Regions from separate parts of the Homo sapiens genome. Here region 2 is linked to region 1. The links are contacts of gene promoters, found by promoter capture Hi-C in blood cells and fetal thymus (Javierre and others, 2016). All regions are on one chromosome and are shown on one strand. Each heading gives the region's core, a stretch centred on a gene start or on the middle of the fragment in contact. The rest is flanking DNA. Distances are from core to core; before and after follow the strand shown.

Region 1 (7,138 bases), core at 2,009-4,508:
GGGTTCAGGGGTCGAAGCTGCAGTGAGCCATGATCACACCACTGCACTGCAGCCTGGGCAACAGAGCAAGACCCTGTCTCAAAAAAAAAACATTAAAATTAGCAAAGTGTGGGTGAGACTAATGTCCCATGTTTCAATGATGATTCAAAACTGAAGTTTGTACATATAAGTAGCTAAAAGCAGAAGCAAACAAACACAGTTTACTAGTCACAATTCCCTGCATCCTCACACCCAATTCTAGCAAGCCTACTGAGAAAACCCCCGAAACGTTTTGGAGGTAATTCCCATTACGTATTCTGCAATTCAGAGCCCTGCAATGGTTAGATAGAAGACTATTTCTAAGAGACATTACCTCTGGACTTAAAACAAAAAGAGAGACACATTGGCACTAATCTTTGAAATAGAGTGAAAGTTATATGTGACTTCAGTCTAGATGAGCACTGAAAACTCGTTGGAGACAGCTTCTTGGAAACTATGACTTTAATCAAAATGACATGTAACAAAACCAATTTTACCACAGGCTGATCGACATAAACAAAAGTTAAGTTCCTATGGCATATTTCTGGTCACAAAAACGTCACCAAACTTCTGAATAAAGACTCGAAACAAACATTTTTAATACTAAATATTGAAATAAATGTGAGCTATCCGTACACTTAAGAACATTTAATGAAAACAAAAAATAATCATTTACCCAATTTTTGGCGAATCAGTGAATGACTGCAGTCATAGTGTTGGTGGGTTAACTCAAGGAATAAATGTTTGAGAGTGAAAATTTCAAGAAGTACCTCCTACCACCACAAAGTTCAAAAAACAAATAGTAACACTATAGTGGGCATGCTGGGCACTTTCATAAGGCATTGTTTATTGTCATGCATTTATATGATTATCATACACACTTTATATAAACTTTTTAAATAGAGACAGGCCTTACTATGTTGCCCAGGCTGGTCTTGAACCGCTGAGCTTAAGCAATCCTGTTGCCTCAGCCTCCCGAAGTGCTGGGATTACAGGTGTGAGCCACCGCTCCCAGCCTTTACAGATTTTTATTTTACAGTAATTTGTATTCATTCCTTCATTCATTTTCCAACTCACTTATTCTAGTTCGGGGTTGAGGGTGGCCAGAGCCCATCTCAGCAACTCAGAGAGGAACCAACCCTGGACAGGACACCACTCCATCACAGGGAGCATCACATTCACACCCATTCAGACTGGGATCATTTAGACACGCCAATTAACAGGCACATCTTTGGGATGTAGAAGGAAACTGGAGTACCTAAGGAAACCCATGCAGACATGCGGAAAACATGAAAACTCCACATACACAGCAGCCCCGCAATGAATTGATTTTTTTTCTCATCAACATTATAACGAAACGATGTTATACCAGGACCTGCTCTATATTGTGTGAACTCTGTAAAGGTAAGGGCTATGCCATTTATTTTTGTATGCCCATGATCTAATACGAGATATAACACTATTATGCCCTGTTTGTTGAATTCATCTGAACTTTCTTCTCTTGCTCTTAAAAATAGTGAATTACACTATCTCAGTTAAATATCCCAAATTGAGCTAAGACTGCCCCCACTTCCTCCCAGACCTGCTCCTCCCACAGTCTTCCTCTTTCTCAAATAAATGGCAATCCCATTCTTCAGTTACCCAAGCCAAAAATCTTAGTGCCAACTTTGATGCCCTTCTCATACCCCTCAGTCAGTCAGCAAGTCCTACTGGTTCTACCTTCAAAATATATACAGAAATCAACCACTTATCATCATCTCCACTGTTTTCCACCTGGCTCAACTCACTTTTGAGCTGAATTATTTCAATAACCTCTTAACTGGTGTCCCTTGCTTCCATCCTTTGCTGCCTTTAGTGTATTCAACACTACAGCCAAAGTGACCCCATTTAAACCCAAGTCAGATTATGTCTTTCCTTTGCTCAAAACCTTCCAATGACTTTTGATTACAACTAGAGTAAAAGCTAAGTCCTTACAATCTGCATCTTCACCATTTTTACATAATATCCTTTTACTCTTCTAGTTAATTCTGCTCCAGTGACAATGGCCTTGGACATGCCAGGTGCAACTTCCTCCCCTAGCTCTCACCCTCAGCCTTTGTACTCTCCTCAGATATAGAACCTCTAGCTTTTGAGATTCCTTCAAGTCTTGACCAAAGTGACATCTCCTCAGTGAGACTCCAGTGTTCAAGTTAAATTGCACCAATCCCCACCCCCAATATTCACTACACCCAGTTGCTTTATTATTTTTTTTAGTACTGACCACATCTCCACCTAACAGTTTGTCTTTATTGTCTGACTCCCCCACCTTCATCCCATGCCAGAACTTAAGCTTCATGAGGGTTGAGATTTTTGTGTCTGTATATTTGCTGCACTCAGAGCTTAGCCAAAAAAATACTTGTTACATGAATGAAAGAGCCCATGACATAGCACTTATCTAGGTATTGCGGGCACCACAGTGAAAACACATACAGATTTCCAACCTAGAACTGCAATATAGTTTTTTTAATACAAGGAAAAGCCGCAAACATGCAGAAAAAGGCTTTTAGATCTCTATGTTATTGGCATAATTTAGATCTCTATGATATTGGCTAAAGGCTTTCAGATCTCTGTGCTATTGGCATAGCACCTGCCATTTGTTGAGCGCTTATTTGGAAGCAGTTACTTAACAAATACTTTGAATTCCCCCAGAACCACGTAAGGCAGCATTAACATCAGCATTTTCCATACAAACGATTTGCCCAAGGTCAAACAACTAGCAGGTGGCTGAGCTGAGTTACAAACAGACAACATTGCAACTTCCAAACTCTTTGTTCCGCTGGGGTCCCGCAGCCTTCTTCGCTTTGAAGCTGGATGCGGCAGGATTCGCACGTGCCCTCAGTCCACTGCGTTTTCACCTCCACCTCCGGCATTCTACTCCAAAAGGAAGGAGGCTCCGGTGGGGTCTGTTCTGACGGTGCCGATCTCCCCCTCGACTGCTCCGAGCGGAGCCTTCTATTACCTACCAGGCCGTGTCCTCTCAGGCCCAGCCCCCAGCAGCTTTCTCCCGTACCTACCTCAGAGCACCCCCTTCCTTCTTCACCGCCGCCATCCTGCATTCCTGGCTCAGGTCCTCGTCCTGCTGCAGGCCTTTCCTCTGGGCCACAGACCGCCTGGGCTTTCTTCCGCAACCTGCCCTCGGAGCTACAGAAGCGACCAAGGCACGTACACGACTCCCTAACAAACCGGCCACCTCAAGCCCACACCCCTAGCCGCCAAGTTTCAAATTTAACGGTCCCGCGCGGTCGACGTGGCCACGCCCCTCCGCTCCTCCGTGCTCTCGCGTCTCGCCCAAGGCATTCTGGGGCTTGTAGTTTATGCCTGTTTAGTCCGCGAACTCGCGGTGCATAATGGGAATTGTAGTTTTTGGGATTCAATGGCCGTGGAAGTGCAGCAGGCTTAGGCAAAACAAATACCCCCAGGTGCTGTCTTGAGTCGCGGCTCGAAGCCGAGTCTCTGAGCCGAGCGAGGAACACTTAAAGCACCAGAACTTCTTTGCTGTTTTGAGTGTTGGGAGATGTCTCTGAGTGCTTGCACTTGGCGTGACTCTTGTAGGGTGACTACCCCTGCTGTCTGCCCCAAATCTCACCCGTCCGGAGTTCTTAGGCCACTGACCTAGCTGTTTCCTGCCCCACCCTTGAATTCAAAAAGCTGGATTCTAGTTCTGTAAAATCATACCAAATGTGCAACCTTAGGCAAGCTACATAATCTTTCTGACCATCAGTTTTCCTCATCTATAAAGTGATGATACTGTCTTGCTTTCTCTTCTGCTCAGTCCACAAGCAGTAAACACAGCCATGCTATGGTTCCCAAGGTGTTACCTCTTTTCCCCTTCAGGGGACTAGCCTTGACTGACATTAAACTGTTTGTTGCAATTTCAATTTTCTGAGGAAGAAATTGTGATAGCTCAGATGTGACCAGGGGAGTAGAGTCTTTTTGTTTGTTTGGTTGGTTGGTTTTGTTTTAGAGACAGGGTCTTCTTCTTGCTCTGTTGCCCAGGCTGGAGTGCAGTAGCCCCATCATGGGGCTACTGCATTCCAGCCTCCAACTCCCGGGGTCAAGTGATCCTCCCACCTCAGCCTCCGCAGTAGCTGCGATTACAGGCATTAGCCACCTTGAGGAAGGAACAGGGTCATTTAAGAAAGCCCAGGTACAGGGGAGTTCTCCTTTATGACTGTGGGGATGGTCAGAGAGGTGGCACTTCCCAGAGGCAGATGCTGAGGATACTGTCCACTACCCTCTGGTTCTTAGTTCCCAGCTTTCTGTCTTTGTTCATGTTATATAAGTCCTTCTTTCCTCTGAATCATCAGGACTCTTGATTCCAAAGAAGTAGAAATCCAACTTAAATCGGCCTACTCAGAAAAGGGAATTTACTGTCTTTTATATATAAAAGACTTCAGATAAAGCTTAACCCAGGACTCATGTGGACTGGGCCTCTCTCCATTTCTCGCCTCTACTCTTGTTGTTGGCTTATTGTCATTCTCCATTGGGTAACAGATTCACGACTTTATCCTTACAGGTTCAAATTCAGACTTAGGAGTCACCCTGCTTAACCCCTTCCTCCCAAACAGTCACTGGGGATAGTGGATTCAGGGCTTTGATTGTTCAGAACCAAGTCATGTGTTTCACCTTGGGACTGAGAGAGGGGAAGGGGTGATTCCTCATAGGAAATTTTGGTTACTCTTTACATCAAAGTCCTCCACATCCAGGAAGCTTTCCTGGATCATATGAGGTGTGGTGCGTGGGATTCTCTCACTGGCTCATTTTATCTCTTACCTTATGTCAGTACTGGCCTAGCACTTCATTTTCTTTCAACAGGGTGTCCTGTTCATATCTACAGCTTCTCAATTTTGACTATTTCCTACAAACAATCTTGGAAACGTAGTGTTTGGTCTTTTGATCTCAGTCTTTCCTATAACCTAGTCGGATTCCCCATAAACTCTGCTACGATGTAGAATGCATTCAGGCTAAACCCCTTGCTTGTTTCACTACGGGAAAAGAAGGAGGTAGGTAAAACAAAACTCCAAAATGTATGACAGAAGGTACTCTGTGGTTTAATTTGGAAAATGAGTTTTTAGGGATGTCCCATGAACTGATGGGTGGAGCTCCCAGCAAGCAAGGTTTGCCTTTGAGGAAGAGGAATGCTGAAAGCAGCAGGGTTTGTCTGTGGACTTGGGGGAACTGGAGTGAGTGGGGCACAGGATATCCACCTTGGATTGTGACCCTTTGTTGGCCTGGTCCCAAGGACTTACGGTTTTGTGGAGTGAGGGCCTGAGGCAGTGGCCTTAAGAGCTGGTTCTATGTACTTTGGAAGGCTGAGGCGGGCGGATCACTTAAGGTCAGGAGTTCAAGACTAGCCTGGCCAACATGGTGAAACCCCGTCCTACTAAAAATACAAAAATTAGCTGGGTGTGGTGGTGCATGCCTGTAATCCCAGCTACTCCGGAGGCTGAGGCAGGAGAATCGCTTGAACCCGGGATGCGGGGGTTGCAGTGAGCTGTGATCATGCCACTGCACTCCAGCCTGGGCAACAGAGTGAGACTGTCTCTAAAAAGGAAAAAAAAAAAGCTGGTTCAGTGTGATGCCAGCCTCCAACAGCACTGCCTTCGTGCCCAGGCGCCGAGGGCACAGCCTCACTTGGCCATTCTGAGAGCACAGGGAGGCCCTCCCTGGAGCCAGACATCAGCACCCCACAGTGGACACCAGCAGAAGCAAGATGTCCTCCAGTAGCCTTGGAGACAGAGGCCATCAACCAGAGAGAGCTTGAGCAGGACAGGAGGAACATGGCAGATGCTCTGAAAACACCCAGACCACCTAGGGAAGGCTTCAAAAGGAGGGACTCATTCAGTGCCACACATACAGTTGCATAAATATTGCTGCATCCGAGAGTGCCTGTCACGCAAATGGGGACATTTTTCTGCTTTTTCTACTCAGAGAAGGCACCTTCAAAAGTGCCCAGAGAGGCCTCCTCTCTCTAATTCACACAAAGCCCTGTGTGCAGCGGCCCTGGGGCCCTATGGAAGAGCCAATGGGATTCTCCTGACTAGTGCATGTGACTCCATAGGTCTGAGGCCTGAGGAAATGGGTTACATAATGTTCTGTCCTTATTTCAGGAGGTGACAATTCTAAGATAGCTGAATGGGGGTAGGGATGGCTCCTGGCAGAGCCAATCCATTGTGGGGACACTTGCAGGAGAATGGAGTGTCTGTGGGTGGATATGTCTGAGCCGCCATTGCTTTTCTGCCAGGCAGGCTTCCTCACTTCCTCTCTGACATTGCCTCCTGGGTCTTGGTGCAAACTGTGGAAAGTTTGCTTCTTCCCTTCTCGGGGGCCCAGCTGGGAGCTACTCCTGCAGATCTGGACTCTGCATTGCTTTTCCAAAGAAAGGCCAGAGGTCAGAGGCCCCCAGGCTGGGAGGGGCCAAATGATTGGAAACAACTTAACTTCGCTGAATGTGGGAACTAAGTTGGCTACAGCTAGGTGCGAGAAGATTGTTAGAATTAAGAGAGGTGACAGCTGTTTTACCTCTTTCCCATCTCTGCCTTCTTCTCTAAAGGCTGTCCTTTTAAAGTTTTACCTGGAGGTGTGGGTCCCAGTCAGAATTGGCCAACATTCTCCCTTTAAAACAACCTTAGGAGACTGAGGGCCAGTGGGAAACTTGAATTTGGGACCCGCCCAGAGCAACTTTGGAGGAACTCTTTATGTTTTAGAATTTCAGGCTCACCTCTGGGATGATTGAACATACCAAAGATGAGAACCCCAGCCTCTTTTTTGAGATGCAGTCTCACTCTCTCACCCAGGCTGAAGTGCAGTGGCACAATCTCTGCTCACTGCAACCTCCACCTCCCAGGTTCAAGCGATCTTCCTGCCTCATCCTCCCATGTAGCTGGGACTATAGGCGCCTGGCTAATTTTTGTATTTTTAGTAGAGACTGGGTTTCACCATGTTGGCCAGACTGGTCTTGAACTCCTGACCTCAGGTGATCTGCCTGCCTCGACCTCCCAAAGTGCAGGGATTACAGGCATGAGCCATCGTGCCTGGCCAACCCCAGCCTCTTGAGCCAAGACAACCACAAGCTTCCGCT
Region 2 (7,421 bases), core at 135-2,634, 140 kb after region 1:
GGTCTAGAGAATCTTGAAGGTCCCTCATATCCTTTCAAGGGGTCTTGCAAGGTCAAAACTATTTTCATAATAATCTTAAAATATTAATTGCCTTTTCACTCTCATCCTCTCATAAATGTGCAACCGAGTTTTCCAGAGACTATATGATTTGTGGTATCACAACAGATTGAATACATAAACAGACAGGAGAATCATTTCTTCTACTAAAGTGTTAAAATAGATTACAAAAATGTAAAACAGTGTACTAAAAGATGTGCAAATATTTTAAACAATGCCATTTTCCTTACTAAGTTAATTTTCTTTTGGAAAACAGTTGTTTTTCAATAGAAATATGTTACGTTAGCATGTAATGGGGTTATTGTTATTTTTAAATGAATAAACATATTTAAAATGTTTATGTTTTAATATTTATAGATATAACTCACATAAACAAAAGTTCTTTGGGATCCTGAAATAATTTTTAAGGGTGTAAAGGGGTTCTAAGACCAAAAAGTTTGAGAACTGCTGTTATAAATGAGCCTTGATAGACATCTTTAAAATAATTTTTATTATAAATTCCTGAAAGTGGAATTGCTGGGTCAATTTAAAAAAAATGTTTAGTTTTAAGGCTTTTAATTTACTTTGTCAAATTCCTACCCATATGGTTGATACTCCCATCATGAGGAAGTGAGATCTTTTCCCAGAACGTTACATCTTTCAAAGTACACGGACAAAATATTATTGAAATTCACTGATTAGCAGACTGAATAAGATAATGACAGATAGATTTTGGCTCCTGAGGCTTTTCAAAATGATAAAGTATTCTTGGAAATGGTATGAAGAACAAATGTTGAATGTAAGCTATGATTAGTCTCATACAAGATGGTCATACAATTAAACTCCTGATTGAGTTATTCAGAAGCAACAGAATGGTTCATTAAAAGTAATCCTGACCTATCTTTGTTTCTCAAAAGGATCAAATTGATTTCTTTCTTTTTGTTTTTCTTAGACAGGGTCTTTCTCTTCACCCAGGCTGGAGTGCAGTGGTATGAACATGGCTCACTGCAGCCTTGACCTCCTGGGCTCAAGCAATCCTCCCACCTCAGCTCCTGAGTAGCTGGGACCATAGGAATGCACCACCATGCCCAGCTAATCAAAAAAATTTTTTTTTTAGAAATGGGGTCTTGGTATGTTGCCCAGGCTGGTCTTGCATTCCTGGCCTCAAGTGATTCCCCAAACTTGGCCTCCCAAAGTGCTGGGATTACAGGTGTGAGCCACAGCACCTGGCTCAAATTGACTTTTAAAATAAATTTACGTAGTTTCCATATAGGTAACTGAAGTCACTTTTCTCGGCTTTTGTTTCCTAAGTTACCTGCCATTCCTTTCATCAGTGACTTTAGTCCTCAGTTTCTGCAGTACATGGTCCACAAGTTCAGTCTCCAGCACACGCTTCTCTGTCTGCCTTTCCTTCTCGAAAGACTTAACCTTAAAAAGAATGAAACGGATCTATCATTTGGAGGTTTCTGAACCCAGAAGACTAGCTCAGAGCACCACAGTAAGACTACTAAATCAATAGTTTGGGTCAGTGGTTCTTAACCAGGGTCAATTTTGCTCCCCAGGGGACATTTAGCAATGTCTGGTGACATTTTTGGATGGTGCAACTGGCATGTAGTAGGTAGCGGTCAGAGATGCTGTTAATGCACAGGACAGCCCCCTACAACAGAGAATTATTTGGCCCAAAATGTGAACAGCGCTGCTGTTGAGAAACCCTGGTCTGGACTAGTTTATCACAGATGATAGAATTTTTTTTTTTTAAGGCCAAGATGAATGGGCTCTCATTTCATGTGATTCTTTAACATCTTCCCCTTTAAATCTGGTCAGCCACCAAGGTTTCTCAGATCTCAGCTTCATCTACCACTCCTCCCTCTCCTTTCTAAACCCAAGTCCTGTCATCCCACTTTTATGGCATCTGTCCCTTCATCTTCACTCCCCTGGCCAGCACCCAACCTTGGCCTAGGCTAGTTTGATATTCTTTATACTGCTATCACTGTCCTCGGTTTCTCCCTCACTCTATTCCATGCTACACATCCCTGCAGATTAATTTTTCTCAAACACAACTTTGATGTCTCCTTCTGTTCAAAACATTCGGGGCCTCCCCAATAACTGCTAAATAAAAAAACCAGATTCCTTGGTTGGCATTTGGGCTCTCCATGATGTAGCTATAACCATTTTCTGCTTCTGATCCATCTGTCTCACCCAAAATAGACTATTCAGGGTTGTACCAGAATGGTTCTCTGCTGGCCTGCCTCTATCTTTGGGACAACTACTAAAAGAACTACCATCACCTTTGCAGTTCCCTCTTCCTAAAAGGCCCTTCCAGGACCACGAATTCTTGAGGGTAGGATAAATCCCAGCACCTTCCTGAAGACTTCACTGCTGCCTCTTATGTAAATCTCCCAGCCTGAGGGACCCTTGGAGAACTTTATCTGTAGGACTCTCATGGCATTTAGCAAATCTCATGGCATTTGGCATTTAGTAGAGACCTCGTCTCTACTAAAAATACAAAAATTAGCCAGTCATGGTGGTGCGTGCCTGTAGTCCCAGCTACTCGGGAGGCTGAGGTGGGAGGATCACTTGATCCTGGGAGACAGGTTCCAGTAAGCTGAGATCGCGCCACTGCACTCCAACATAGGTGAGTGAGACCCTGTCTCAAAAAAAAAAACAAAAAAAAGCCAGGATTCTCAGAGTAAAAAAAAAAAAAGGAGGCTGGGCGCAGTGGCTCACGCCTCTAATCCCAGCACTTTGGGGAGCCGAGGTGGGTGGATCATGAGGTCAGGAGCTCGAGACCAGCCTGACCAACATGGTGAAACCCTGTCTCTACTAAAAATACAAAAATTAGCTGGGTGTGGTGGTGTGTGCCTATAAACCCAGCTACTCAGGAGGCTGAGGTAGGAGAACTTGGGAGGTGGAGGTTGCAGCAAGTGGAGATTGCACCACTGCACTCCAGCCTGCGTGACAGAGCAAGAATCCATCTCAAAAAAAAAAAAAAAAAAAAAAAGGAAAACTCAACCTAGTGACTGTGTATAAGAAACTCACTTTAAATATAAAGATAGATAAGTTAGCCAGGTGCAGTGGCACACGCCTGTATCCCAGCTGGAGGCTGAGGTGAGAAGATTGCTTGAGCCCAGGCGTTCAAGGCCAGCCTGGGCAACATGATGAGACCCCCATCTCTTAAAAAAAAAAGACAGGTTAAAAATAAAAGGATGGAGAAAGGTAGTGACGTAAACACTAACCAAAAGATTTCAGAACAAGAAATATTACCAGGGATAAGGAATATTTTATAATGATGAAGACAATTCATCAAGAAGATATAAAATCCTAAACATGTATAATAACAAAGCTTCAAATTTTTTTCTGTAAAGGGCCAGATAGGAAATGTTTTAAGCTTTGAGGGCCATACATAGTTGGAGTCACACACTCTCCTTTGTTTGTTGTTGTTTTTTAACAAAGAATGTAAAAATTTCTAGTTCACAGACATATAAAAGCAGGCTATGGGCTGAATTTGGTCCAAGGTGTAGTTTGTCAATACCTCATCTAAAGTTCTACCTGAAGAAACTAAAAAAAGAATAAACTAAATCCAAAATAAGCAGAAGGAAGAAAATAGTAATGGATAAGAGTGGAGATGAATAAAATAGAAAACACATGAACAAATAAAAACTGAGAAAAATCAATGACACCAAAAGCTGGTCCTTGGAAAGACAAAACTGATCAATCTCTAGCCAGGCTGATTAGACAAAAAAGAGGGAGGACACAAATTACCCATATCAGGTCTGAAGGAGGGAGCATCACTGCAGATCCTAGAGACAGTGAAACAATAACAGGGGAATATCTGAAAACTCAGACGAAATGGAAAAGTTCCGGGAAAGATATAAACTACCAAAGCTGCCTCTAGAAGAAAGAGGTAACCAGAATAGCTCTATATATAGAAATATTTGAGATTGGACTTCTAATACTAATTGTATACAGTATCTTACAGAAAACAGAAGAGGAGAGAACACTCTCCAACTCATTTCATCAGGCCAACATTACCCTGATATCGAAACCAAAAAAAAATTAGAAGAGAAAAATATTTTTAAGAAAGTTTTTTTCCCTTTAAAAATAATTAGAAATAAAGGTTATGAGGTGGTATATTTATGAACACTTTTAGTTGAATACAAAAAAGTAAAATTGGTTACAAAGCAATGAGAGGATATGCCTATCAGCAGATACAACTTTACTTATTCTTATTTTCTTAGCTGGAAAAAGAGAACAAGAGGAGAAAAGTAGGAAAAAACCACAGCCAGTTTTTTTGTTTGTTTTGCTTTTTAAAGCTTTAATGAAGGTGGACTCTCTTCCTTATTTTATACACATTTTCTTCAGCAAGAAACCCAACAACGGCCGGGCGCGGTGGCTGACCCCTGTAATCCCAGCACTTTGGGAGGCCGAGGCGGGCAGATCACGAGGTCAGGAGACCATCCTGGCCAACATGGTGAAACCCCGTCTCCACTAAAAATACAAAAAATTAGCCGAGCGTGGTGGCGGGCACCTGCAGTCCCAGCTACCGGGGAGGCTGAGGCAGGAAAATGGCGAGAACCCGGGAGGCGGAGCTTGCAGTGAGCCGAGATTGCGTCATTGCACTCCAGCCTGGGAGACAGCGAGACTCCGTCTCAAAAAAAAAAAAGAAACCCAACAATGGAAAGGGAGAGTAGAGGGAACGGATTTCCAGTCACCTACACGGCCCGGGCCTCAGTGTGAAGGCAGGTGCTCCACAGGTAACACCTAACTATTGAATTGTAAAAAATCTCTGACGTCTTTACCTTGACATGGCTTCCTTCTTTATCCGAGACAAGGGCCACATAGGTGATTTCATGATGTCTGCAGTACTCTTGTAATTCCTCTTGGGACTGAAACAAACAAACATAGTAAAGAAAATAAACACAGAGCACCTGGAACAGCTTCAAGTAATTAAGGAGAATGAAAATACTGTTTCCAATTATATTCTCAATGTGAATTACTAAAATGCTGACTTCAGGGGGATATAAATATTAAGCAAGAAGCCGCATAGAATTCAAGGGAGGAACAAGGCCTCTCTTGCCTCCCTTCCCTTCATGATTGTTTAAAGGGCCATGAATAATCAATCAATAGTAAGAGGTTTTCAAAAGCTTCAAGACTTAATAAAAGATGCCCAAAATTATACAACACAACATACACACACACACACACACACACACACACACACACGCTGAAAAAGCCTCTGAGGAAAATGAAGGAAACAAAGGAAATAAGGGAAGGTGAAAAGCAGAACTGAAGAAGCAAACCAGGAGGGGGCAGAGAAGCCTGTGGGGTGTCACTGTGCAGGACTGAGGTCACTGGCCACGAGGCTTGGATTTTACTGCAGGACAGAACACTTCTCTAATGATTTATGAAACATGTGAACAAGTAGAAGAGGACACTGTTCTGTCAAATGATTAAAAATTGTTGCTCAGCACACTTCTGATGTGAATTTTGATACAACACACACACACGAGTAAACAGCAGCAGCTTCAGAAGCCTCCTGGCAGGTGATGTAAACAGAGCAGGTGGGAGGGTGGTGGGTCTGTGTCCCTGGTCATCGCCATGCTCTGGGGCACCTTTAGTGTGGGCGAATGTGGGTACAACCTGGATGATCTCCTGGGAGTGCACCCCTTCTATGGTCTGCTTACGCCCCCATTCCAAAGGGCAGGCATGTGTCCTGGGTGCCACTTTCCACACCTCCACACCCACGGCAAGTGTCAGGCCTGCATGCTGTGGGAGGTCTCAGGATACAGAGCCCAAAACACACTAAGCACTGAGTGCCTTCAGAAGTGTGGCAGGCTGGAGTACAGCCCCGCAAAGATGTCCATATCCTCATTCCTAGAACCTGTGAGTGATCAACCAGGATTATCTGGGTGGGCCCCACGTAATCACAGGGTGCATGTATGAGGGAGCTGGACAGACAAGAGTTAGAGACAGATGTAAGAACAGAAGCACAGGTCAGCAAGGAAGGAGGCGCTTCATTGCTGAGTGTGATGATGGAGGAAGAGGCCATGAGCCAAGGAATGCAGGAGGCCTCTAGGAGCCAGAAAAGGGAAGGACACAGATTCTCCCCTAGAGCTTCCCAGAGGAGCCAGCCCTGTTGAATTTAACCCAGTGAAAGTGCTTTTGGATTTCTGACTTCCAGAAATGTAAGATAATAAATATGTGTTTAAGCCAGTAAGTTTGTGGTAATTGGTTACTGCAGCAATCAGAAACTAACACAGGAGGCAACTCGAATTACAGAGATAAACAGAGTTTGACAGTCTATAGGTGCAGAGGATATTTGCCATGAAAGCCATAGCAATTTGCACTTCACTCACAGGTGCTTTTTGTCCCATTACCTGTGACCAGTCGTACATGATTTCTGCTGTGATGCCTGCTGTCCAGAGTTTCTGGGTTAGGTTGATGGCCCTGGACATAGACATCTGGCCAACACTTACAACCAGGAGGTCACAAGAGCTTATTGTAACCTGGATCAGAAACAGACCGGTTACAGTTAGAGGAGCAAGACTGCAGGCATGGAAGTGAAACCAGCATCAGGAGGGGAGGCAGCACTCTTGGGAAGATGGGCATTCTTGAAATCCTGCATAGAAACACAGCGTGCCAAAGACTTTGCTTCAAAACACATTGTAAAAAAAAAAAAAAAAGACACACTCAAACAACTTTTTCTTTTTTTTTCTGAGACAGAGTCTCACTCTGTCACCCAGGCTGGAGTACAGTGGCACGATCTCCGCTCACTGTAACCTCCGCCTCCTGTGTTTAAGCCATTCTCCTGCCTCAGCCTCCAGAGTAGCTGGATTACAGGCGTGCACCACCATGCCCGGCTAAAATAAATAAATAAATAAATAAATAAATATATATACATATATATATTTGGTCTTTTTAGTAGGGATGTTGTTCTGCTTGTTGGCCAGGCTGGTCTCGAACTTCTGGCCTCAAGTGATCCACCTGCCTTGGCCTTATTGGGATATAGCTGGAATTACAGGCATGAGCCACCATGCTCGGCCACAGTAAAAAAAAAAAAAATGTTATGTTAGTCTTTCAAGACAGAAATTATTTCAACTACCCTGAGCCATCTGGAAAATACCATTTTTCTCTAGGAAAACTAATCTTGCCTGAAATACAAGGGGGAAAAAAAGCTATTTCTAGCTTTGTAGACCACAGCAGGATTTCTTTTCTTTTCTTTTTTCTTTTTTTTTTTTTGACAGGGTCTGGCTCTGTTGCCCAAGCTGGAGTGGAAGTGGCATGATTTCACCTCACTGCAACCTCCCCCTCCTGGGTTCAAACGATTCTCCCACCTCAGCCTCCTGAGTAGCTGGAACTACAGGTGCATGGCTAATTAACCACAC

What was found. The method cuts DNA at HindIII sites, captures the fragments that hold promoters and counts their contacts. A CHiCAGO score of 5 or more calls a contact.
Region 2: a contact is called between a fragment that was not itself captured here and the fragment with the promoter of BUB1B in region 1, in 8 of 17 cell types (total B cells, erythroblasts, fetal thymus and 5 more). The highest score is 7.8, in total B cells.

Annotation. Positions count from the first base shown.
Region 1 is chr15:40,157,189-40,164,326 of GRCh38, reverse strand. It overlaps BUB1B (BUB1 mitotic checkpoint serine/threonine kinase B), which reads right to left and starts at 3,258. Exons shown (of 23, transcript NM_001211.6): 1 at 3,072-3,258. The coding sequence starts at 3,106. RefSeq lists enhancers at 2,103-2,867, 2,875-3,004, 3,025-3,124, 5,998-6,858. The HindIII fragment of the contact is 2,113 bases long and covers 2,350-4,462 here.
Region 2 is chr15:40,020,020-40,027,440 of GRCh38, reverse strand. It overlaps EIF2AK4 (eukaryotic translation initiation factor 2 alpha kinase 4), which reads right to left. Exons shown (of 39, transcript NM_001013703.4): 31 at 6,414-6,542; 32 at 4,836-4,922; 33 at 1,352-1,464. Among named protein-coding and RNA genes, the nearest start is that of SRP14, 15 kb to the left of the region's middle. RefSeq lists enhancers at 4,066-4,565, 4,566-5,067. The HindIII fragment of the contact is 3,995 bases long and covers 1-3,381 here.